Linked DNA regions of Homo sapiens: regions 1, 3, 4, 5, 6 and 7 are each linked to region 2. The links are contacts of gene promoters, found by promoter capture Hi-C in blood cells and fetal thymus (Javierre and others, 2016). All regions are on one chromosome and are shown on one strand. Each heading gives the region's core, a stretch centred on a gene start or on the middle of the fragment in contact. The rest is flanking DNA. Distances are from core to core; before and after follow the strand shown. Region 1 overlaps CDC20B (cell division cycle 20B). Region 2 holds the start of SNX18 (sorting nexin 18). Region 3 overlaps DHX29 (DExH-box helicase 29). Region 4 has its middle 14 kb from the start of CDC20B. Region 5 holds the start of MCIDAS (multiciliate differentiation and DNA synthesis associated cell cycle protein). Region 6 overlaps CDC20B (cell division cycle 20B). Region 7 overlaps NDUFS4 (NADH:ubiquinone oxidoreductase subunit S4).

Region 1 (3,764 bases), core at 1,180-3,679, 620 kb before region 2:
AAATGATGCATTCCTGATAAAAAATGAATAATTGAAGGATATGAATAGAGCCACTTTGTAAAAGAAAGAAGATATCCCCCAAATATATGAGAAAATGTTGAGTTGGGATTAATTAAAAAAGTGAAAATGAGAATAACTATTTTATCTTTACAAACAGGTAAAGGTTAAAAATATAATGAAATTATACTTATTACGGTATGCTTCCTCTTAGCCTAAGGATCTCTTGCTGTCATCATTTCCAACTATTTGATGATGTGATCTGTCCTTTGGGGTCTCTTAGGAAAAGTTGAATTATTGCTCTATATGATGGTCTTTTAAATATTTCCCTTAAGCCTTTCTTGTTGTTTGTTTTTTTCTTGGTTAAGTACATTTATTACATTTAGGTATCTTTTATTTATTATAGTTTTAAGATCTTAGGAGTCTGACGTAAATCTTTTGGGCACATTAAATATCAACAGCATGTTTTTGAATTTATCAAATCCAATGAAGAGTCTTTGAAGGAATCCATATTTCAGTTCGAAAGCTTTGAACTAGAAAAGTCATAAATTCTCAATTTAGGCAAAATTACTTATTCAGTGTATGCCTTTTTCTGTGCTTGGCTATTTTGCTAGAAGAATAATAAAATATTGTTCATATAAATTTTAGTTATCTGAACTCATATGCAATTGGAAGTGAATGTTTTAGAGCAGGTATTTTGATGTGTGCTTTATTGTTGGATATGGGTTTGGGGGATAGGGAATGGCCGGGGAGTCCTACTGAGATAATTAGGGTGCACTGGTGGCCTCAAACATGGGCCAGATTATTGACACTCCTGTGTTTTCCACCCTCTACTGCTGATTGGAGTTTTTGCTGCCCTACCCCTTAAGACTTCCTTTTCCTTCCTCTTATCCTTTCTGGTAACTGGTGGCAGCAAGGTTAGTGGCTCCATCTGTGGGCTCATGATGGTGTTGGCAAGATACTCCTTAGCAATTGTTATACCAGCTGGAACATCATCCCAGCATCACTGAAGAACCTGGGCAGGGGATAATGGAAGCTGTTCTATGGTGTTAAGGAGAGCATTTTTTGTCATGATTAGTTAGAAGTCAAATAGCATCGAGAGTGGTGAAGACTCAAAGCGAGGTCTTTCCCCTGTAGAGTAAACGTGTGTCTTCATGTGGTCCTCACTGATCATCTGGAGGGTGTTTCCACAACGAGGGCCTGCATAGCCGTGGAGACTTTCAGAATTCATCTTCCAGGAGCTCCATATTAAGTTGCTGATTAAAGTAGTAAGTCGATCTCATCTAGGAAAGAGCACCCCTGCACCCACAGAACAGAAGCGCCTGCTAAACCTTGCTGTGATCAGCTTTGTGGTAACTGTGGGATTCTAAAGAAGTGAGTCTGTGAAGAGTTCATTGAACTACTGATGAGCAGGCCATTTTAGGAATATTATTTTATACTAACGGTTCTCAACTCAGGGTGATTTTACTCACCAAGGGGCATTTGGCAATATCTAAAGACATTTCATTGTTACAACTCAGGGGGAGAGCATCTTGTGGGTGAAGGCCTGGGTTACTGCTAAACATCCTACAATGCACAGAACAGCTCCCACAACAATGAATTGTTGCCCATAGTGCCAAGATTGGGAAACCCTGCTTTCTAGTTAGTTGTTCTACCTTGAATAACTAAAAACCACGATTCATTGACAGCAATGCCAATTATGTGACATAACATCAAGGAAGAAAAACAAAATACCAAAATGTTGTCTGTCAGAGAGACTTCTGTCTGAACCGTGGGGACCCAGAGTGTAAGGAACATGGCTGTGCTTTGGTCAAGGATAGGCCGAGGTAGGATGTTTACATTCTTCGTGACTCAGTGAGTATAGAGCACAGGCGTATAACTCCACTTGTCATCATAGCCATGTAGACACAACATAGAGAAGCTCACCACTATAGTTATAACACCGGGAAGGCCATCACTTGGCTCTAAGCCACTATTGTCCGTAAAAGGTATAATTGCCCTGTTGACACTGTGCAGAAGCTGGCACCTGGAGAAAGAGAAAGCCAGAGCTGTCTTTGCAGATGGATGAGGGGAGCCAGGACACAGCTTGGCTTGCTCGTGCCCAGAGAAAGAAAGTGTTAAGCTGCTGACCCTGAAGGCAAGGGAGAGCCAGTCTTGCAGCTGTGTGTGTGGGTCATCAATTAAGCAGCCAAGATAAAGGTGAACAGTGTAGAGAGCTAGTGTAAGAAAGCTGTTGATGAGAGCTGCTGCTGAATAAAATCATTCACCTGCCTACGGCCCCCCAAAGTGTTCTTTCTGCTCATCCACCCACTCCCTCCAGACCTCAACATGACCTTTGGCGTAGTTCTGAACCTGACACAGTGTTTGTCATATTTGGGAGAGCAAATATTTTATTGTGAAGAAGCAAAACAGAATCTTCTCTGCTTTAATCATTTATCACTATGTTTTTAGGAAATTCCAACAGTTATTTTTCTTTCCACTTATTACTAATTTTCCCAGGTGTTTTTGATTGAAGTTGGATGTAAGAGTGTCAGAAGGGCTCTTTATATATTGGCCCAAAGGGATGGGACCCAGATTTTTGTGCACATGGAATTTTAGTAAAGTTACTTAAGAGCTCTGTGAAGGTGTTAACAAAAAAGGACCTTAAGATGGCCATTCAGCTGTGGCAGGCTTTGCTGATATCACTGGCCTATGGTGTATAGGCTAAACAGATTTTTAGGCTAGAAGAGTAAAAAAAGATTTTATTCTAGCCAAAAAATACCTGCTCTATGGAGTTGTTGAACTCCATAGTTGAGAAATAATATATGTAAAATGCTCAGCACTGTTCATAATATATTGTTTAGTTAATAAATAATAGCGATTATTGTGGTGTTGGCTTTGACAATGTGGAATCTTTGAACTCCTTAGTGAATTACCAGTTGTAATTCTATATTATACATTACATTTTAGTTGTACATGTATGTTTTTAAAGAAATATTCTCCTTATGTGTGTTTATTTTCAGAAATGCCTAAAACAACTCTTTGTAACCCAGAACGTGGTTCAGCAGGCTAATGGAAAAATGCAGCTCTGTGAGCAATCCGAATGTGTTTGGAAAGGTACAGGATCAAGACATTGTCCTTCTTTCCTGCGCTCCTCTCTCTCTGCCTCCTTCATTTCTTCCTAATCTTAAAATATATTATTTTTAATATTTACTAGACTAAATCAACCTAATTGTAAAATATGAATAATTCTCATAATCCTCTGTTCTAACTACCCCTACCTCCAAGTCCCATTCTCTATAGGTGACCACCTTTAGTTCTTCCAGCTGTCCTCCTGGTATTTACATCTATTTTCTAAATAATATTGGTAAACTACTATTTCTTGTGATTTTAGACTTAATCATGACTTTTTTGTTTTTGGTGTTGCTCAGGCTGGAGTGCAGTGGTGCGATCTTGGCTCACTGCAACCTTTGCCTCCCGGGTTCAAAGGACTCTCATGCCTCAGCTCCCTGAGTAGCTGGGATTATAGGCATGCACCACCATGCCTGGTTAATTTTTTTGTATTTTTAGTAGAGTTGGGTTTCACCATGTTGGCCATGGCTGGTCTCGAACTCCTGGCCGCAAGTGACCCTCCTGCCTCAGCCTCCCAAAGTGCTGGGATTACAGGCATAGTAGATAAGAATTTAGTTCTCTTCCTGCCTCATTCAGTTTCATCAGTTTCTCGACATGCTTATATCACACTTTAAAAAAGTAAAATTAGTAGTTAATGTTTACATCATATTACTACA
Region 2 (3,416 bases), core at 139-2,638:
CTCGGCCTTCCTCTTGCCCTGCTTCCAGGCTTTCTCGTCGGTGCTGCTGGGGCACGTCAGGAAGTGCTGGAAGACGTCGCACTGCGCCAGCACTGGGTGGCTGGCCATGTGGTTCATCCACCAGATCAGGCCCTTCCTGCGCTTAGAGATGAAGTCCTCCTCGAAGCGGCCGGTGGCCTGCTTCTCGGGCAGGTGGGGCACGGAGATGACCGGGAACTTCTCCGCCAGGCGCGCGTACAGCCAGTCGAAGTGCTTGTAGCGCCGATGCACCGGCACCTGCGTGTGCGTGGGCACCAGCTTGTAGGAGATGTAGCTCTTCATGCCCTTGAACTTGGTCTGCTTGGTGGGGTCGTCGATGGTGCACTGGAACGGGTAGGGGTTCTCCTGCCACTCGGGGCCATAGGGCCCCAGCACCACGCACAGCTTGTCCCCGTCCTTCACGAAGCCTGACGCCTCCCCCAGCACGAAGGCCTCCCCGCCGGACTTGACGAAGGTGGAGAAGCGATTGAGGTTGCGGCTCACGGTGGCCGAGCTCTTGGGCCCCGACGGGTGGTGCTGCGGGGGGACCGAGCCGCCGCGGGAACCCAGGGACAGGTCGGAGCGCGTGGACAGGCGGTAGCGGCCGGCTGCGCCCACACCCGCCGAAGACGAGCCGTCGAGGTCCGGGTATGCTCCGCTGCCCAGAGCGCCCGGCTCGTCCGCCACCGTGGAGCTGTCGTCCCACTCGTCGTCCCAGTCATCATCGCTGCCTTGGCTGGCCTGGTAGCCGCCGTAGAGCTGCTGAGGCGACGGCTGCAGGGCGCCCCCGCCGTACGGGAAGCCCGCGCCGGGCGGCTGGAAGGTGCTCGGAGGCGGCGCCTGCTGTGGCTGCAGCAGCGCCTGGAAGGCGTCAGGCGGCGGCTTGAAGGAGGCGGGGGGCGCGACAGGCAGGGGCTCGAAGCCCCCGGGGGGCACATTGGCGTAGCGGGCCGGGGCGCCCGGGCCGCCGTCTCCCGCCGGGCCAGGCTCGGGGGCGCGGATCACCTGCACATAGGAGGCCGGGAAGAGGCCGCGGTCGCCGCGGCTGTTGACCCCCTCGAGCCAGCCCTCGATGTCCTGCTCGCTGCACAGGCTCAGCACCTCGTGCTCTCGCAGCGAGATCTCTCCTGGGTTCTCCGACCTGAAGTCGTACAGCGCCCGGGCGCGCAGCGCCATGGTCCCGGCGCCCCGACTGGCGGTCCCGACTCCCGGCGTCCCGAGCCGAGGCCCACCTGAGGGGCCCGCGGTACTGCTCGAGCCCTGGCGCGCGGACTGGAGCCCCGAAGGCGGCAAACCCACGCTGCCCGGACCAGCCGGTCGCGCCCTCCGCGCGGCTCCGCTCGCAGCGCCTCCACTTCGCAGCGCCGACTGCCGCGCTGGGCCGCCGCAGCCGCCGCCGGTCGGGGGCGGGGCCCGCGGCCTCCCACGTCTCCAGCTGCGCTAATCCACGGCCGAGAGCCCCTTGCCAGGCGAGAGCAAGCGATGGCCGAGCCGCCGAGCCCACCGCCCGCGTCGGCTTTGCGGCGGCCACTGCCCTCTAGTGGCCGGTGCCGCGAAGCCGGGCGCCGTAGTGAGCGCGGCTGAAGGAGGTTTCTACTCCGAAGTGAATTATCTGAGATTTCTTTAGGCTTTTAAGTTAAACATTCTCTAGAAAGTAAGTTAGCATTTGCATGCCTGATAAACGTTCCCACTCTGAGCGCTCAGTGAATGCTCCTAGAATGGCAACCCAGTCATGTAATAAAGCATTTTGCAATGCGAATTAGTGATTGCACTAAGAAAACAGGATGCCTCTGCGGAGGAGCTGTTCACCTACAGAGCAGGCTCCCTTCCCTCTTCTGCTCAAGGAGAGGAGATTGGCAAGAACAAAGTAAGGGCCAGGGAAGGTGCTGTGATTGACAAAATTAGAAGCAAAGGATCATGTAGAGAGGGAGGAGCTGGAGAGTTTCCAGTACAATAAATGCTCACACATTTATTACATGCATGTGTCGCCTATCCTCCCATAGATATATGTAGTGCGGTGAATGAGAGCTCAAACTTCGGAGCCAGGCTTCTGAATTTCAATCTGTGTTCTGACACTACCTAGCTGTATGACCTGGAACAAGGCACTTATATCGTACCTACCTCCGGGGGTTGTTGTGGGGATTCCATCATAAAGTAATCCCTATTTTACAGATGAGGAAAGTGAAACAATATCTGGCAGGGTAAGCAGATTTGAAGGGTTTGTTGCTGCTTTTGCTGCTGTTACTGTTATTTGGGGGAAGCAAAATCCCTGGCCTCTTTCACAAAGGGAATAGGGGTACTAAACTAACAATTGCAGGGTACATGCACCAGGAAGCGTCCCAATGTTCACATTGCCACTCCTAGTAAGAGGTCAGTGACCATCCATCCATCTGTTGTCTCTATGTCTCACTATATTTATATTATTTTTAAGATAAATAGAACAAAAATCACTTCCTGAAATAATCAGCTCCAATCTATCGTTGCCTTGTTTCCTATCTTCCTTTCCTTCAGTGTATAATTTGCCCAAAGCTTTTTCTTCTCTTAATCCCCTCTTATTAAGTCTAGCCTAATTATTCCTTTGAAGACACTTCTAATTGAGGTTCTGCATTCATGTGTCATTAATTTCAGCCTGTCCTCTGACCCTTTTCAAGGAAACCTGGGAAACGGGCCAGAAGAGTGTACAATTATTCTAAGGGCTGTGGTATTGTAAGCATCTTGCACAAAAACACAAACCCACTATACCAGAATCACTCCCACAGTGTTTATCCTAATGCAAAACCTTAATTCAATTCAGTAAGCATATTCTAAATTACATTTTTAGCTGAAAATTCTGGGTTTTGACTATTCTCACAGTAAGCAACAGGGATCATTGAATTTCAATGCCAACATTTCATGTGGTCAGAAACATGAAGTCCACATTAACTAAACCTCTAGAATATGACTCATTTTACTTCTGAAAAGCTAACCTAGAATATGTAAGATAAATAAATTTAGTTTCGCCCCTTCTGTTCGTTTAGTAGTTACTTTTTAGATTAGAGTTAAGTACAGTAACTTTGGGCTTATTTCAGGTGTGAAAATTCCAGGAGTTTAAGGTGATGATTTTTTACAGACTGGTTGAGCTACTCTGTAGAAATGGTGGTTGAGGAATTATTGGGTGTCCAAGGTTGTTTGTAGCACTGGGGCATGGGCGTCTGCAGGTGCTTACTTTGTAGGAGTCCAGTGGGAGGCCTCTGTGCTTGCCGCGCATCAGGCTTCCAGAAGGATGAGGACAGGCTGTCATGATGTTTGGCCCTATGGCCACTAGTGGCAGGAAAACCCCTACCTCTAGAGGGTCTTAGATATGTAGAAAATTGTGCTCCAGTATTAACAACCTATAACTGTTCACTCAGGGAAATAGA
Region 3 (3,311 bases), core at 425-2,924, 780 kb before region 2:
TCTTTTTTTTTTTTTTTTTTTTTTTGAGACGGAGTCTCGCTCTGTCGCCCAGGCCGGACTGCGGACTGCAGTGGCGCAATCTCGGCTCACTGCAAGCTCCGCTTCCCGGGTTCACGCCATTCTCCTGCCTCAGCCTCCCGAGTAGCTGGGACTACAGGCGCCCGCCACCGCGCCCGGCTAATTTTTTGTATTTTTAGTAGAGACGGGGTTTCACCTTGTTAGCCAGGATGGTCTCGATCTCCTGACCTCATGATCCACCCGCCTCGGCCTCCCAAAGTGCTGGGATTACAGGCGTGAGCCACCGCGCCCGGCCTAATATTTAGCATTCTTTAGAGGAAAATTAAAATAATGTAATAGATATTAATCATTAAATTGCCTTGTCTATTTGTATTTACAGGTCCAAAAATTTATAGTTTTAATTCTACAAATGATTCTAGTGGTCCTGCAAATCTGGATAAATCTATTTTGAAAGTAAGTAACAAAGGTTTTGAGTCATTTCAAGAAATGTTTCCCCCTTTTTTCCCCCAAAAAAGATGTATCCTTAAATGTAAGAAAATGATGGGGTGTTTTAAATTTTTGTAAATAGTACTCTAAGAGCTAATCTCTACTAAAAATAAGTAAATCATACACATATGTTGAGAGACAGTAAGAAATGAAGGAAGGCCTGGTTAAGATCTAAACTTCTTAAGCATGGCATATACATTTTTTCAGGTCTGTCTTAGAATACCGTTTCACCCTCCTCTCTGCTACTCTGATCTCTACTTAATATTTTAGTTCATGGGACATCTCATGAATATCTCATTTGTTCTTCTAAATCCGTGATTTTACAACTTCTAGCTTTTACCCATGTACTCTCTGCGTAGAGTGCCCTTATTTCCCCTTTTTATTTGTCACCTCTGTGACCTCTATGAAGTCCTTTATCAACCGCCAAGTTGATTTTCTTGGTGGTTCTACTATTACTTGATATATCTTTTTTGAGAATTGCCATGCTGGGTTATAATTTGTCTCTTTATATATATTTTCTGGGCTAGACTGTGAATTTCTGAATTATATTTTTGTGCTTAGTTTATAGTAGGCATTTAGTTAAAAAGTAACAAAGGGAAGATATTTTTGTAAGTAGATGCTTGTGTACTCTTAGGTCAAAAATAACAAAAGAACAGAAAATAAAATGGCTAGTAGGAAAAAGTAGGAATCAAAGTCTAGAAGCCAAAAGAATTTGTGTAGCTTATTACGACATATTTAGTTTTCAGTTTTACTTGTTATACCCGTTTTTAGTATAGTGTTCATTCTTTTAGGTTGTGTGCTTGCAGTGGTTTACATTAAATCCCTCCAAGAATTCTGATTCAGTATGTTTGGGATAGAACTTAGGAATCTTTGTGACAGCAACCCAAGGGTGGTCCAAGGACAATGTCTCGTGACATTGCCCTCAAGAGGCTTTTTCTTGCCATGTGTTATCTTGTTGCTTTTTTCATATCACATTTTTTCTTAAAGAAATGATAGGAATGTGGTCAAATGGGTGGTAGTCCAAAAAATGATAATTACTGTATCTGATTTTAGCTGAAATTTTGGGCTTGGTTGGCAGGAATATAGAAAACTGTATGATTGGCTTTTAATTTTTTAATAATTTAGCTTCTAAATGATATGACCTTTTTGGCCTCAACAGGTGGTAATTAATAACAAACTAGAGCAAAGAATTATTGGAGTGATCAATGAGCATAAAAAGCAAAATAATGACAAAGGAATGATTTCTGGAAGACTTACTGCCAAAAAATTGCAGGTATTTTGCAAACTTTTTAAAGTTCCTTAGTTTTAGTGAAGCATTTTTAGACAGCTCCTCATGTGAGATAAAAATGGCTTTACAACTTCCATTGAGATTTTATGTAGATCATTTCCATCTCTAAGAATAGAGAAAGAATTGTGCACACCTTAAATCAAGAAGGTACAAGTGCACACATTAAAATGGTGATATGAAAATTAAGGTATATCCCCAGAATTATATTATTGAGCACCTACTATGTTAGATTCTGTGCTGGGCACTTTGTTTACATTTTCTCTGACACAACAGTCCTATGAAGTAAATGTATTTGGCCCCATTTTTTCAAGTGAAAGAATTGAGGCTTGCAAAGATGCCATAAATTATACCCTAAGGTTACTAGTAAACAGGGTCTGGATTTGAACCCAGCTCTGCCTAACCATAATGATTATGCTTTAGAAAGTATGTTAAAATGCTTTATCTTTATCTATAAAGATGTTCACTGAAGCACAGCTTGTAATAAAAAAAAAATATGTCCTAAGTGTTCAGCCATAGAAAAATATAAAATTAAATCAGGATATGTCCACCCAGTGGAATATTATGTAACTATTCAAAGTGATGGTGCAGAGTTTCTACTAACTTGGGAAGGTGCTTATGTTATAATGTTAAGTGAAATCTCTTTTTACAAAATTATGGAAAAATGACTGAAAAAAATGTACTACATTTAGTATCTTTGGATAGTGAGAATATGGATAATTTCTCCTGGTTCTCTTTTTTAAAGATCTCTGGTTTCCAAATTCTTAATTCAGTAAACACATTTCATTTTTAACTGGGAAAAAAAAGATAGTTTTGAAATTATAATTTGTGTCAAAGTTTCTGGTTTAAAATGAATGGGATAATTAGTAACACAGGAAGGGAACTTTGACAAATGTGACTTTTTTTATATTTGCTTGTCATAGGATTTATACATGGCTTTACAAGCATTTTCATTTAAGACAAAGGACATTGAAGATGCCATGACCAATACACTCTTATATGGAGGTGACCTTCATTCTGCCTTGGATTGGCTCTGTTTAAACCTTTCAGATGGTAAACAATATCATTAAATTCTTTCAGTTTCTAAACCTTTTGAAGTAGTTTTGGTATTTGTATCAACCTTTTGGCTCATACTCATATTTTTTCACTGTCATAATTATTTACTTTTAAAGTGTTCTTACCTTCTGTTCTTTTCAGGATATTTTCCTTAGAGATTGTGGCCTATGCAAGAAAATATTATGTTTTGTGTTCAGTTGTTGATTGTTATTTTGCTATGTCCTTAATACAAGGTTTGCCTCTCAGTAAGCTATGTCTCCTGGCTTTTCATTTAGAAATTAGGACTGTCCTTGAATATATAGTATTTTATTAAGCAGAGGATCATGATTGTAATCTTTGGCAAGAATCTGGAGTGCAAATGGCTTGTGGTGACTAAGGATACTACCACATGCTGTGACAGAAAGCCAAAGAGTGGGAAGGATTAAGATCTTATGACAATTTAGGAGCCTAACATTGAGGGTGAAAT
Region 4 (3,646 bases), core at 291-2,790, 670 kb before region 2:
AAATTCAGCCTTTGGGCATTTATAATGGTGGTACAGTTTTGAGTTCTATAATCTAAGATAAATATTGAAACCTGAGGATTCAGAGGTGTACAGTAAACAAAGCATTGGGAAATAGGAATTGAAATTATTTAACCTTAAGAAGAGAAAGCTTAAGAATGGCTACATTTATGTTTATTTACATAGAAAGAATATCCTATAGGACCTTGTGTTTTCATGATATCACTCTCACAGTGTGTCAGTGTTAGGGTCATTATTGTGTATGTCTCCTCTTCCCATCTAGCCTGAGAGCTCCCAGAGGAAGTTATCTAATTGATCTATTTCCCCAGTCGTGTGTGCTGTTTAAAGAAAAAATGTTTTCTGAACTAAAGTTGATTATAATCACGACATTTCAAAAGAGGAGAGAGCAGACCGGGATAGTTTAGTCCTGCCTATAGTCACTATGCTCATTTTTGTAAACTTCTAAAGGGATTACCAGCCATGTGATTCTATCCATTTTACTAGTATGCTACTGTTTGTTTCTTCTTCTTATAAAGAAGAATTTAAGGGCTTTTCCTCACTGTCTTACTCTAGTAAATCAGGTCCTTGTGTATCCTATTACTAAAATGTAAACATAATTGTGTTGAAATTATGTCCCACTGGCTAAGTTGAACTGTATGAAATGTTAGCTAAATGCTTCTGTATTTACACAGGTATGTTTGCTTACTGGGTAAGCACAGTTGGAAGTGTTTCATTTAAATATGATGAGCTGAGAATTTGGCGGTGCAGCTGATGGGTAAGTTTTCCATAATAGTGATGCGATTCAAGTTTCTATTTTGTTTTGTTTTGCTTTTTACTCAACATTTAGGCGATAAAGTTGTAGAATCTCTATAGGAAAGTTGAGAATGATAGCACACTTTTGGCACACACCAAATTCATGTATTCAAATTATGTGGGCTCAACCTTTGAGGGATGTTTAAGATTTTAGCCTATTGAGCAGTAAGGTCACTGCAAACTTTTAGGTTGTTTGAGTCAAAACTTCCCACAGTTGATGACAAAATATTTTAGTTGGCTTGTGCCTTCCTAAACTAGATCTGATTCTGGTGAGGGTTGGTGGTATGTGTTTGTTAACAAAAAAACAGAAAATGTCCCAATTAGATCTTCATTTCTTCCTTTCTTTTCCTTTTCTTCTTTTTCTTCTTCTTCTTCTTCTTTTTTTTTGTAGCAGGTAACAAAATAAAAGCTCTTAGTCAAGTCTCTAGTTAATAAAGACAAACATCATATCTTGTCTCCCTATATGCTGTCCCAGAAGAAAAGCAGAGAAACAAGTTTATAAACTCTAAATTTTCCTAGCAAAATCATGTCAGTTGGAGTTGTGGGAATTAACTACTCTTTTAAAATAGTTCCTGCCTTCATTTTGCCACTGAAGTACAAAAATGCTATAAAGTATTTAAAGTGCTTAGTATTGTGGTTGAAAACAGCATTCAATAAATTTTAGCTGTTAGGTTTTTTTTTTTTAAAAAAGAAAACAACATCTTAATATAAAAACTCACTCAAAAAGTCAATGGGCCCAGTTAGTATAGACAATACATTTGATCTCAAAAAGGAAGGAAGAAGAATCAAAATGAAAGGAAAATAGCAATTTAAATTATCAAGGACATCAGAATAACTGAGATGTATATAATTTGTTTTTTTCTTTTTTTTGAGACAGGGTCGTGATCCTCTCACCTCAGCCTCCCAAGTAGCTGGGACTACAGGCATGTACCACTGCTCCTGGCTAATTTTTTTATTTAAATTTTTCGTAGACATGATGTCCCACTCTGTTGCCCAGGCTAGTCTTGATTCCTGGCTTCAAAACATCCTCCTGCCTTGGCCTCTCAAAGTGCTGGGATTACAGATGTGAGCCACCGTGCTTGGCCTATTTTGCATTTTTTTTTTTTTCAATCTGATAAAATAGGCCCACAATCCTGGATAATGTGAAGAGAGCTAATTACTTTCCATGTTCACAGTGCCACCTTCAGGAAAGAAAGTGTTCGTTTTAATTTAGTGCAAATGCATCTTTATTGGAGAAGGTTGGGCCAAGTACCTGAAGATCAGGTGTGTTAATGACGATGTTTAAGTTTGACTGTCATGAGCATGTTTACTCTGATTTCTGCCTGGTTGTGTTCAAAGCAGAAGACAAACTGCTAGCCTTTAAATTTTGAAATGGGGCATTAAAAATTTGATTAGAAATGAAATACATATAATTTCCTATTTATTCTGTTTTGCAACACCATACTTAGATCATCATATGTAAATTATGGAATTTTTATATATCTCCAAGAGGTTTAACAATCTCCTTTGATAATTGGTTCTTTTAACCAATCTTATAAGAAAATTATCCACTATATTGAATTAAAAATGGGACTAAACAATAAATTCTAGTGCTTGAAATAGTACCCAATGGATGAACAACTGGTATAGGAAGTCAGCATGGGTCAGATTAAACAACCTTGGGAAGAGGAGGGGAAGAGCTCCTAGAACTCTCTAGGGCTACATTGTCTTAGGTAGCCACTAGTTACATGTGGCTATTGAGCACTTGAGATGCAGATTAGTACAAATCGGGATTTGCTATAAATGTAGAACACACAAAGGATTTTAAAGACCTAATGCCAAAAAATCATAAAATATCTCAATATTTTTTATATTGATTATATGTGGAAATTATAATATTTCATATATGTTACATTAAATTAAATATATTATTTAAATTAATTTTACCTATTTATTTTAAATTTTCTTACTGTGGCTACTAGAAAGTTTGAAAGATTACTTACGTGGCTTGCATTATACTTCTATTGGGCAGTTATGCTCTAGGGCATACAAATTATAGTGGAAGCGGCCCCCATGATAATCATAGATTACTAAGCACATACCACGTGTCTGGTATTGTACTATGTGCTCTTAAGAAAGCTTTATGGCCAGATGCAGTGGCTCAAGCCTGTAATCCCAGCACTTTAGGAGGTAGAGGCTGGAGAATTGCTTGAGCCTAAGAGGTCGAGGCTGCAGTTAGTTATGATTACACCACTGTACTCCAGCTTGGATGACATTAGAGGCCAAGATTTGGGAGGAAGGTTCAGTGTGAATAGAAGTTTGAGATGCCTGGGAAGCCTACTGGTCTGGATTAGGTATGGATCACAGACACTATGCACCAGGTCGAGACTGCTTATGGAGTACAGTGTTAGAAGAAGCCCTCTGGCCGGGCGCGGTGGCTCACGCCTGTAATCCCAGCATTTTGGGAGGCCGAGGCGGGCAGATCACAAGGTCAGGAGATCGAGACCATCCTGGCTAACACGGTGAAACCCCCTCTCTACTAAAAATACAAAAAATTAGCCGGGCGCGGTGGTGGGCGCCTGTAGTCCCAGCTACTCCGGAGGCTGAAGCAGGAGAATGGCGTGAATCCGGGAGGTGGAGCTTGCAGTGAGCCGAGATCGCGCCACTGCACTCTAGCCTGGGCGACAGAGCGAGACTCCGGCTCAAAAAAAAAAAAAAAAAAAAGCCCTCTAGTGTTGAGCTGTAGCTGGTTTGTACCGTTCCACGAGCCAATTCGGCTCTTCTCTTCCCGACTCTGTTCAGTGATATAATGTTGGGAGCTTGAAATCAGCTATGGTAGGAGTATTTACACCACAGA
Region 5 (3,869 bases), core at 1,364-3,863, 710 kb before region 2:
GGATCACGAGGTCAAGAGATCGAGACCATCCTGGCTAACACGGTGAAACCCCATCTCTACTAAAAATACAAAAAATTAGCTGGGCATAGTGGCAGGTGCCTGTAGTCCCAGCTACTCGGGAGGCTGAGGCAGGAGAATGGCGTGAACCCGGGAGGCGGAGCTTGCAGTGAGCTGAAATTGCAACACTGCACTCCAGCCTGGGCGACAGAGTGAGACTCCGTCTCAAAATAAAAAAATAAAATGGGAATATCAATAGGGCCTATTTAGTAGGGTGGAAGTATAGCTCTAATGAGATGGTCCATACTGGTCCCCCAGCACATAGGAAGCCCTCAAGAAATAAAGGCTAGTGGTAACCTGCACAGTGATGGGAGGACAGGGGCTATGCAGAAAAACTTGGAGCAAAGAAACGAGAGCAAATATGGGAAAATAACAATTTGTGTGGGGTTGAACATATGGTTGTTCATCGTACTGTTTTTTCAAATTTTCTGTATGGTTGAAAAAAGTGATAATTTTTTGGGGGAAAATCTGTCATGTTCCCCTGCACCTAGGGTATATCAAAATGTATGACAAATACAAATAAAAAGCAAACTCAAATTTAGAGAAACTTCTTTGCACTTCTCTCAAAGTGTGTCTTCCAGGTGTTCTCGGAGCCAGGAGTGCCTTACTCTGGGCCCCTTGAATGCCTCTTCTGACATATTGCTATGCTAAACTTTCTAGGAACTTTCTCCTCCTTGGCTGTGGAAGAAGGACGTGGTGATCCCCAAGCTATTTGTGTAAAAGCTGCTCTGTGATGGTGAAAAGGGAGGAGGAAGATCATATCACCTGTTTCAAATAACAAATTATTAGGGCCCTCTGCTTGGTTGTAAGGGGTTGGGGTCTGGTCCCCAGGCAAAAGAGTGACTTTGCGCGGAGTTGTCTTCACCAATATCTGCTCCATTAATCAGCCAAGACTGCTATGAGTTACTGGTTCCAGAATCATCCACACTAGGAGTCATATAATCATGCTATTCCAGTTCCTGTTACAACAGATAATGTGCAATGCCCATATTTTTGTCTACTCCAACTTAGAACTCATTGACGAATATTTGGAAAATGGGCCTATCCTGGAAATTTTGTGACGATCTGCATGTGTGGAGATCGCCCCAAAACTCAGCTAAGAGCTTCCCTACTCATTTTAAAGGCTGGAAAGTGGGTGAGGATGGGGATGGAGATGGAGATGGACTGGCTAGTGGTCGTGCTACTCAGAAACCAGAGGAAACAGGAGACAGGGCTAGGAACAAGTTGTGGGAAGCTGGAAATACAGCTGAAAAGGCTTTTAAAAAATCACTAATTTACCCATACTAAGCACCAGTCACTTTACATAAATAATCTCACTCATCTTCACAGCAACTCTATTGAGGCCAGTGTAACTTTTTTTCCTAAAGACCTAGGGCTCATGGACCTGGTCCTCAGGCACTCTGACCCTAAAGCCAGAGCTCCTCACCATGAGCCATACCACACCAACTCTAGCTGGCTGACCTCACATCAATTCAGTTTCTGCATCTACTCCTGGGTCAGAGAGTCTCTCACTCTATTCCAGCTCTACCATTGGATTACCTTCCACCGCTGTTAGGGTATCTTGTTTCTTACTAGAGGCTCTTTCACTACGACTACTAGGTATAAGGGGAAAACAAGGTGCCCAACATAGGGGGGTGGGTACACAAAGATTCCAATTTCAGACGACTGTTCAAATTGGATGAATATGAGTGGTACTGAGAAAGGTCCCTCGCCTAAGGATGCCCCTCCCTAGGAGATGCCTCGGACTCAGGAAAATGCCCATTCCTTGGAGAGGTGTTGGCTTGGGAATGGCAACTACGACTGCGAAGAGACCAGCCAAACGTGGCGATGGGCCGCTGAGGCCACTAGGAAAGACAGGAACAGGGTTTTCGGGGATTCGGTACTTTCCACTGTGGCGTTTTCAGAAAGTGGAGGAGGGTTCGTAGTGTCACTTTTTCTTAACGGACGGTCTTTTAAAGGCTGTGCTCACGCGCCACTGCCGAGAAGAGTGCGGGGCTTGGGGAGCGGGGCGGGCTCTTGGCGTCAGGCCAAAAGAGACCACGTGGAAATCCATAAGTCAGGACCCAGGATAAGGTTCAGGTTTGAGGGAAGGGGCTTCTGTAATAAGGGGGCTGTTCCAGGGCATCCCTGCCGGTATTCTACATCCTTACTAAATCCTGCAGGAGCGCAAAGGCCGGAGTCTAGCGCTGGCGGGTGTCACTCCACGTTTATTTCGTGCGCCTTGTGGCTGGAGTGGGAAGAAAAGGAAATAATCGTTAACTTTGCCATTCCCCCTGTCTGTAAGCGGGAAGACGGTACCCAGGGCGAGGGAGACCGGCGTTTGCCCGCCCCTCCTTCTCCCTCTCTTCGCCTGGCGCGTCCGGGAGGCGGCGGCGCCAAAGCTCGCCGAAACGGCGCTGGCGGGCCGGGGCCCCGCGCTGGCGGCTCCCGGGGGAAGCCCGGTTGCCAGGTTGGGTTTAACGCCTCCGCCCGCGCGCAGATTGTCCCGGGCTGAAGGCGCCACCTCTGGCGCTCAGGCGCAAGCCACCCCTCCCGCGCGGCGGTCCTCCCCCTCCCCCGCCATCTCTCAGCACCTCCTCGGCAGCCCCTCGGCTCCTTCTCGGTCACGCGCCTGCCCCAACCTCTGGCTGGCTTCGGAGCCTGCAGGCACTGAAGGGAGTGCAGGGTGTGGATCGCTGCCCCAGCCCGGGCCGCCGCCTCCGAGCAGTCGGCACCCGGAGGCAGGAGGCACAATGCAGGCGTGCGGGGGCGGCGCGGCCGGCCGTCGGGCCTTCGACAGCATCTGCCCCAACAGAATGCTGGCACTGCCGGGCCGGGCGCTGCTCTGCAAGCCGGGGAAGCCGGAGAGGAAGGTGGGGCGGTTGATTCGGGCCGGGCGGGGTCTGCGCGCTCGGTGCCCCGAGGGCTGACCCGCGTTCAACGTTTGTGTGCCCGGCCAGTTCGCTCCTCCGCGGAAGTTCTTCCCCGGATGCACAGGCGGGAGCCCGGTGTCGGTGTACGAGGATCCCCCGGACGCCGAGCCCACAGCGCTGCCAGGTGAGCCCCGTGGCACCCACGCTACCCCTCGGGTTCCCCGCGCCGGGAGGGTGCGGCGCGCACAGCTCGGAGGAGCTTCTCTCCCCCGGGCTCTGACGTCCTAGCTGCGAGCCTGGCGGAGAGGCTCAGGGCCCGCCCGGCGCGTGTCTCCCGGTCTCCCCGCGCAGCCCTCACCACCATAGACCTGCAGGACCTCGCTGACTGCTCTTCGCTACTCGGGTCCGACGCGCCGCCTGGTGGTGACCTGGCCGCCTCGCAGGTACCTCCCCTTCTCGTGGAGCCTCGTGGTTTCACGCAACCCAAACCCTCCTCCGGGGTGGTGGTTTTAATTCCCCAAAAGCTCCTCTCGGGTCGGGAGCGCAGGCACACTCAGCTGGTGAGGGGAAGCATTGTGCAGGCACCTGAGCCTCCCAGATCAGAACTTCTACTTGCATCCTAGTATGTTATGAAGACCACATATCCACTGGAGCTGATTTGACCAACTTGATACAGTCGGGCTCATCTGGAGGCCTCCCCTCCTATTTCCCACCCTATCTACTCTTTGGAGCTGTGACAAGATTGCGCACTGAGAGACCAGGCGGGTGGGTGGGAGCAAAGTTGCGCACTGGGAACCTGTTGCATTCCTATCAGTTCTCCCAACACCCCCTTCCTGGCCATTTTCATTCCGTGGGTATATAAGAAGAGTGGAGGTTGATGGATAACTTCTCTATCAGGACTGGAAAAGAGCAAGAGAATTTGCAGTTGGAAGAAGCAGGAAGGACAAAGGACTCTGGAAG
Region 6 (3,483 bases), core at 720-3,219, 640 kb before region 2:
AACTCAAGGTTAGAGTAACCAGATTTCAATATACTTGATGACTTCACCTATGAGTCTACTCATCTAGTATGTGATCTTAGTATCAAGAAATGAAGCAAAGTAGGCTGGGAGCCGTGGCTCAGTCTGTAATCCCAGCACTTTGGGAGGCTGAGGCGGGTGGATCACCTAAGATCAGGAGTTTAAGACCAGCCTGCCCAACACGGTGAAACCCCATCTCTACTAAAAATACAAAAAATTAGCCGGGTGTGGTGGTGTGCACCTGTAATCCCAGCTACTCGGGAGGCTGAGACAGTAGAATCATTTGAACCTGGGAGGTGGAGGTTGCAGTGAGCTGAGACCACACCACTGCCCTCCAGCCTGGGGGACAAGAGTGAAACTCTGTGTCAAATAAAATTAAAAGCCAAAAAAAATGAAGCAAAGTTGTAATCCCAAATTGCTGGGATTACAGGTGTGTGCCACCACACCAGGCAAATTTTTGTATTTTGAGTAGAGATAGGGTTTTGGCCTCCCAAAGTGAATAATCACCTTATTTTGAAAAGCAATAACTTTTTTTTTGGCAGGGTCTCGCTGTGTTGCCCGGGATGGGCTTGAACTCCTGGGCACTAAAGTGATCCTCCTGTCTTGGCCTCCCAAAGTGCTGGGATTACATGCATGAGCTACCATGCCCAGCCATGATATCCTTTTGATAAATCTTAATTTATGTAAGAAATGTAGATTTTTTTTCTATTTATACCACTCAAGATTTATGTTCATTTTATTGACTAACATGAGGAAAAATATAATAATTATAACTAAAATTTATGAAGTGCTTACTATGTGCCAGATTAATGTACGCTCCGTGCTTCAAATTGATCCTCTCTTTTAATCTTACAGGGACCCTATGAGGTGGGTATTATTATCATCCCCGTTTTGCAGATGAGATAAATGGAAGCCTAGACACAAGGTCACGTGGCTAATGAGTGGTTGAGCCAGGATTGATATACGGGCCTTTTACTCCAGAGCTCATGCTCTTAACCTTTGGGCTCTATGATCCTTCCTATCTAAGTGGAATGACACCTTAACTCACTGTTACCTTTTTGATTACACAGGCTAAGAAGGGTTTTAGAAGGTTTGTAGTGATAAAGAGAAATAACCTATGAGCTATTGCACCCACGTATCTGGCTGCTGTAACTGAAGAATGATTAGTTCAATGGCATGTGCTTGGGCTTTTCTTTCCTCAGTGGACCTTCAAAATAAGAGGAATAAAGACCTCACTGTGGTTGCCATTTATGGCGTTAGGCATTATATCAACTTTCCCTAGAAATTAAATATAATGTTTTTAGAAGATTCTGACTTCACATTTATGTGAAATATTATAGATCACTATTTGGTTTGTTGGATTAGAAGCTTGATTGCCTGAGTGAGGTAATAGTTTGATCAAAACTCAACTTATTTACAGTGAAAATAGGACTGAAGATGTCATCAGAATAAGTTAGATGAGAGAACATTAGCTAATGTCCTTTATTTATTTATTTAAGATGCAGGCTTGCTCTGTCGCCCAGGCTGGAGTGCAGTAGCGCGATTTCAGCTCACTGCAACCTCTGCCTCTGGGTTCAAGCGATTCTCCTGCCTCAGCCTCCTGAATAGCTGGGATTACAGGTGCCCACCACCACACCTGGCTAATTTTTGTACTATTAATAGAGATGGGGTTTCACCATATTGGCCAGGCTAGTCTCTAACTCCTGACCTTAAGTGATCTGCCTGCCTCGGCCTCCTAAAGTGCTGGGATTACAGGCGTGAGCCACCGCGCCCGGCCTTTTTTTTTTTTTTTTTTTTTTTGACTAATATGGTTTAGAACAGTGTCTGGCACAGAGCAAGCAGTGTATAAGTACTTTATTTTTACTATTAACAGACTTAATTCCAAACAATCTTAAGAAGGCGGTACTATTGATAGCCCATTTTACAAATGAGAAACAGGCACAGAGAAGTTAAGAAGCCACATAGCAAAAACAAAAGAGCAGGGGTTTGAACCCAGGTAGCTTGAGGCCAAAGCCTATGCTGTCTGTATGCCTCATGACCTTTGTGCTAAGTGACCTTGGCAAGTCTTTAAACAGATTTCTGTAGCTAGCTTAATTGGAGAAATAGCCTAACACTACTGCCCTCTGAAAAAACCAAGTTATATGTTTTTGGATTTTAGCAAAAATCTGGTAAGCTGACATATTCATCTTTGAGAATATTGTTTCAGATAAGAAAGACAACATAAAATTAGCCACAAACATATGTTAACTAATAATGCCCAGCACTATTCATGAGAGCTGTGTGGCTATAATGACGGGAAGGGACATTTCTCCAGATGCTAGTTACAAGAGAGGAGAATTAAGATATTTTGTGAAAATAGCCATGGGCACACTTTAAGTAAATTCTTCAGGAAGATGGTAATAAGGAATAAAATATATTGGAATAGAATTCTTTTACCATCTAAGAAGCTAAAACATTGATTTCAGGGGAGCATAACTCCTAGAAGTTACAAAGGATGAGATTCTGGCTCTTTGATGATAGTTTTATGAAGCTTTCCCGATACAACGTTTCAAATGAAATAGGAAAGTATTGTCCTGGTATAATTGTTTAAAAATGAAAAGCAATTTAAAACAGCATATGCAAGGCAGATATTTACCAACAAGAAATCTAAATGCAGGTTCTCCTTCAGATCCTAGAATCTTAATCTTGTGGAAGATGGGGAAAGTTACTCCGTAGTTTTTTCTTGCAAAAGATTCTACTTCCTTGCTTGGGCGGGGCTCCGATTCTCCAAACTGATTGCAGGGAAAAGCCAACACGCTGAAGTGGGATGGTCCAAACTCTTTGTGCAGTTCCTTCAGCCCTAAGTAATTTCTGTCTGTGAGTTGGCAGTCACTGGCCACGTTTACAACTAGTGAAACCTCCCGGAAAAAGAAAAAAATCCAACCGGAAAGTGAAGCAAAAGATTTTAAAAAATTCTGCAAGTAGTTAAAATCCTAAACAATTTGGGGGGGACTATAACCTCTGATTGATGTTTTTTTCATATTTTTGGACATACACAGTTCTATTGAAAACTGTAACCTAGATGCCTGGGTTAAGGCCCTGAAATAGTACTGCCATTAAAAAAGCATTAGATACTCATGAAAGTTTATTTTTAAATTAAAGATAAAACTATGATCCTTGATAAGTTCTTTTTAAAGTTATTAGATTATAGAACCAATACTTTTATTAATAAATGTCATCATGTTCACATTACTAACTATAAGTATTTTCCAAACAACTTTACATGTCAATTCAGCACAAAATTAAAGCATTTTAAAGAAAACGAGATAATCGGAATTTATTATTTAGAAGCAAACTATCAGAACTGTAATAACTAAAGTGATGTACTAATACCATTACTCTGAAGACTAAATTCCAACTTATGACCATGTAACAGCAAAAAATTGATTTTATTAAGAGGAATAAACAGAGACAAGGAAAAATGAT
Region 7 (3,810 bases), core at 1,285-3,784, 950 kb after region 2:
ATTCATAAGACAACTTCAATCCAAAAGTTAACAGAGTTCTAGGTGAATATCCTACACTCAGACCACTGCAAATAATTAGAATATGTGTTGTAGATAGTTTATCTTCATATTTATAAAGGTTAGTGCCTACCTGGCTATCACTGATGAGGGTATTAAAAGAAACACTGCGTAATGCTCCCTGCTTTTCCTCACAATCGCTCATCTCTAAATATGTATTTATTCATCTGTAAGATAAGCATTTACCTGCTACATGCAAGCCATTACACTAGATGCCATGAAGTACACACAAATAAACAAAAATGTGGTTGTGTCCTCAAAAAGCTTGCGACCTCACTGCTGATATATCGGTCCATGTGCTAAAACCTGCTCACTTGCAAATATGAGTGTATATAAAATAGAGTCAGCATAGGTTGTTATGCTGAGGTAACCAATCCAAACACCTTTGTGGCTTACAGCAAAGGTTTATTTTTCACTCAATTTATATTTTATAAAATCTTGCAATAAGAATCAGTTTCTGCTTTGCACTATGTAGTCTACAATCCAAGATGTGGGCTAAAACAGCAGACCCCACCTGGAGTACACCTACCTCACATCAGAGGGAAAAGGAATATGACAAAACACAGGAGAGCTCTCAAAGCTCCTGTTTGACATGGTATATCATTTCCACTAACATTTCACTGGATAAAGCAAGTCATTTGGCCAGTGGTTTTTGGATATGTAATCCTGTTGCAGACAGTGGTAGTGAATACTTTAAACAATAACACAATCTATCACAATACTTACAACCAAGATTAAAGAAATGAAAAACATTCAGGCCATTCAAACCAATAATAAAATTACCATTTATCTAGGGAAGGCTTACTATATGCCGACATTACATATTAAAATATTTAATTTTCCGGCTGGATACGGTGGCTCATGCCTGTAATCCTAACACTTTGGGAGGCCAAGGCACACGGATCACTTGGGGTCAGGTGTTCAAGACCAGTGTGAAACCCCGTCTGTACTGAAAATACAAAAATTAGCTGGGCGTGGTGGCAAGCACACCTACAGTCCCAGCTGCCTGTGAAGACTAAGGCAGGAGGATCACCTGAGCCCAGAGGGTGGAGGTTGCATGAGCCAAGATTGCGCCACTGCACTCCAGCCTGAGCAACAGAATGAGACTCTGTCTCAAAATATAATAATTATTTTCCTAACAAAAATTCAACGAAGATGTCTGCTACTGATGAAAACTAAGTATGGGCATTTGGAAAGAGGAAAAGAAACAAAACAAATAAACCTATCAGAAAACATATTAGAAATCTTTCAAGCTCTCAAACTTTGGCTTGGATGTGTTACAAAGATAGCAAAAATAGCTGCCCCTAGGAGAGGAATTTATTTAGTTTATCTGAAGTAGAAGTGAACCTATTGGTCTTAAGTGTCCTAAATTTGAGCTTAGCCTATTTCCCAGCAAGGTGTTAACAAACAGAATTCTTGTCAACCTTAAGGACTGCTTACTATTTGGAGGGTTCAAATTCAATTCCCCATCGAATTGAAGACTCAATTTCATGCTAGCTTATATAATGCTGAAGAACCAAACACAGCAACAGAATAAAGCCACAGATCAGGGCATAAAAGAGACCTCACAAACAGGTCCCAAACACTCAGTCCCCACCAGTCATTAATTAAAACCCTCTGGGTGATTTAACACCCTAAGGACTTGTTTGAGGAAAACACAAGACCTAGTAAATACTAAGGTGAGATAAGTATACATGAACACACTTAAATAAGTGAATAAAAACATCACTGCATCAAATATCTTAAGTATAGCTATTTTGAAATAGAGTGCCATTTCATCTGGCTGATAAATGCATTTAGAATAGTTAAATTTACCCTGGAAAATCTCTTAGGAAAGTCAGGGAAAGTAAGGATAAATGTAGACAACTTAGGGATGGGCGCGGTGGCTCCCGCCTGTCATCCCAGCACTTTGGGAGGCCGGGGCGGGTGGATCACCTGTGGGTAGGAGTTTGAGACCAGCCTGGCTAACACGGTGAAACTCCATCTCTACTAAAAATAAAAAAATTAGCTGGGCGAGGTGGTGGGCACCTGTAATCCCAGCTACTCTGGAGGCTGGGGCGGGAGAATCGCTTGAACCCGGGAGGCAGAGGTTGCAGTGAACTGAGATTGTGCCACTGCACTCTAGAATGGGTGACAAGAGCGAAACTACATCTCCAAAAAAAAAAAAAATGTAGACAATTTAACCCCTTTTTTTGCCTCCTCACATTCGGTACAGGGAAATGAGAAGCACATGGAAACTGAGACCAACACTACAGCACAAGCTCAGTAAGTAACTAGATCAGCTCAATCACCCACATTACTAGATTTTTTCTCTCTTGTGTGTATGTGTTGTTGCATTCTTTGTTTTGCTTTTCACTGATGATATACTATAATTGAATTAATATGTTAATGTAGCAGCTAACAGCATCCTTCCTTTTCTTTTTTTTTTTTTTTTTTGTTTTTTTGAGACACAGTCTGGCTCTGTTGCCCAGGCTGGAGTGCAGTGGCGCGATCTTGACTCACTGCAAGCTCTGCCTCCCGGGTTCACGCCATCCTCCTGCCTCAGCCTCCTGAGTAGCTGGGACTACAGGCGCACGCTGCCACGCCTGGCTAATTTTTTGTATTTTTAGTAGAGACGGGGTTTCACCGTGTTGGCCAGGATGGTCTCGATCTCCTGACCTTGTGATCTGCCCGCCTCGGCCTCCCAAAGTGCTGGGATTACAGGTGTGAGCCACCGCGCCCGGCCCTTCCTTTCCTTCAGTTCCCTACTCCACTCCTTACCTTACTGATTCCACTTCCCATATTCTATTCAAATGATCTGAAATGTTACATGATTTGCAAATGTTTTTCTAAGCATTACAATAAAATGAATTTTAGATGTAGATTTTCCCATTAATTGGTTCTTTCTACTCACCTTTTTCAGATCCTCATTACTATCAAATCATAATGGAAAAAGAATGCTTAAGGATGAAGAACAAACAATATGTAAGGGAGAGGGTCTATAAATTTCCCTCAAATTAGGATGAACATGACAAGCTCTTAGGGTAAAAATGTGGCACAGAAAACAAATAAATGTGTTAATTTGTATTTAAAAAACGTCTTCCCTGGCATTAAGATTTTTTTTCAAGATTAAATGATTTATTTTCAAATCTCTTACATTTGCAGGCAAAAACTCTTAAGTTTGGATATGTAGTAACAATTATCATCAGAGTTTCAAAAATCTAATCTCAACTTCAATTACTATAATTGCTGACAAAATGGCTTTGACTTAAAATTACAGCCATGTTTTGATTAGCCATAAACCAGTGGTCCCTTCAAACTTGTTTTCAGTTCTGGGGCTACCATGAGTACATTATTATCTGGGAATGACAATTAATCCCTATAATCTGTACGGGAGGAAGGGCTAATCTTGGTCACCGCTATATTAACTCTAAGTTAACCAGTGAAGTATTTTACCTTAGAAAAATACTTAACCCAGCCTGACCAACATGGTGAAACCCCGCCTCTACTAAAAATACAAAAATTAGCCAGGTGTGGTGGTGCGCGCCTGTAATCCCAGCTAGTCAGGAGGCTGCGGCAGGAGAACTGCTTGAACCCGGGAGGCGGAGGTTGCAGTGAACCAAGATCACGCCATTGCACTACAGCCTGGGCGTCAGAGTGAGAATGTATCTCAAAAAAAAAAAGAGAAAGAAAAAGGAAAAATACTTTCCATATATGGAACACTTAATTACAAACATCATTTGCCTTTCCCCAATCTTAGCACCCTTACTTTTG

What was found. Contacts are between HindIII fragments. The CHiCAGO score rates a contact against its expected background, and 5 or more counts as called.
Region 1: a fragment that was not itself captured here is called in contact with the fragment with the promoter of SNX18 in region 2 in 11 of 17 cell types (fetal thymus, naive B cells, neutrophils and 8 more); the score reaches 13.6 in fetal thymus.
Region 3: a contact is called between a fragment that was not itself captured here and the fragment with the promoter of SNX18 in region 2, in 1 of 17 cell types (neutrophils). The highest score is 5.1, in neutrophils.
Region 4: a contact is called between a fragment that was not itself captured here and the fragment with the promoter of SNX18 in region 2, in 1 of 17 cell types (activated CD4 T cells). The highest score is 5.1, in activated CD4 T cells.
Region 5: a contact is called between the fragment with the promoter of MCIDAS here and the fragment with the promoter of SNX18 in region 2, in 6 of 17 cell types (naive CD8 T cells, activated CD4 T cells, naive CD4 T cells and 3 more). The highest score is 8.0, in naive CD8 T cells.
Region 6: a fragment that was not itself captured here is called in contact with the fragment with the promoter of SNX18 in region 2 in 15 of 17 cell types (naive CD8 T cells, activated CD4 T cells, total CD8 T cells and 12 more); the score reaches 23.5 in naive CD8 T cells.
Region 7: a contact is called between a fragment that was not itself captured here and the fragment with the promoter of SNX18 in region 2, in 1 of 17 cell types (monocytes). The highest score is 5.0, in monocytes.

The regions. Positions count from the first base shown.
Region 1 is chr5:55,139,643-55,143,406 of GRCh38, reverse strand. CDC20B (cell division cycle 20B) reads left to right here. Exons shown (of 12, transcript NM_001170402.1): 5 at 3,000-3,093. Among named protein-coding and RNA genes, the nearest start is that of GPX8, 19 kb to the left of the region's middle. The HindIII fragment of the contact is 3,807 bases long and covers 526-3,764 here.
Region 2 is chr5:54,515,731-54,519,146 of GRCh38, reverse strand. It overlaps SNX18 (sorting nexin 18), which reads right to left and starts at 1,388. Exons shown (of 2, transcript NM_001102575.2): 1 at 1-1,388. The coding sequence starts at 1,194. RefSeq lists an enhancer at 1-480 and silencers at 953-1,512, 1,393-1,634. The HindIII fragment of the contact is 5,643 bases long and covers 1-2,549 here.
Region 3 is chr5:55,295,751-55,299,061 of GRCh38, reverse strand. DHX29 (DExH-box helicase 29) reads left to right here. Exons shown (of 27, transcript NM_019030.4): 2 at 398-471; 3 at 1,664-1,777; 4 at 2,713-2,842. Among named protein-coding and RNA genes, the nearest start is that of DHX29, 10 kb to the left of the region's middle. The HindIII fragment of the contact is 9,704 bases long and covers 1-3,311 here.
Region 4 is chr5:55,185,839-55,189,484 of GRCh38, reverse strand. No RefSeq gene overlaps it. Among named protein-coding and RNA genes, the nearest start is that of CDC20B, 14 kb to the right of the region's middle. RefSeq lists a silencer at 518-718. The HindIII fragment of the contact is 2,780 bases long and covers 151-2,930 here.
Region 5 is chr5:55,226,059-55,229,927 of GRCh38, reverse strand. MCIDAS (multiciliate differentiation and DNA synthesis associated cell cycle protein) reads left to right here and starts at 2,613. Exons shown (of 7, transcript NM_001190787.3): 1 at 2,613-2,909; 2 at 2,997-3,093; 3 at 3,261-3,352. The coding sequence starts at 2,790. It overlaps LOC124900978 (a long non-coding RNA gene), which reads right to left and starts at 3,310. Exons shown (of 2, transcript XR_007058773.1): 1 at 2,631-3,310; 2 at 1-2,284. RefSeq lists silencers at 2,354-2,443, 2,594-2,743, 2,794-2,863. The HindIII fragment of the contact is 6,344 bases long and covers 1-3,869 here.
Region 6 is chr5:55,160,426-55,163,908 of GRCh38, reverse strand. All of the region lies in intron 2 of CDC20B (cell division cycle 20B), which reads left to right. GPX8 (glutathione peroxidase 8 (putative)) reads right to left here. Exons shown (of 3, transcript NM_001008397.4): 2 at 2,654-2,915. Among named protein-coding and RNA genes, the nearest start is that of GPX8, 2.0 kb to the right of the region's middle. The HindIII fragment of the contact is 1,162 bases long and covers 1,389-2,550 here.
Region 7 is chr5:53,561,920-53,565,729 of GRCh38, reverse strand. The region is part of intron 1 of NDUFS4 (NADH:ubiquinone oxidoreductase subunit S4); the gene reads right to left. Among named protein-coding and RNA genes, the nearest start is that of NDUFS4, 3.2 kb to the right of the region's middle. The HindIII fragment of the contact is 4,422 bases long and covers 324-3,810 here.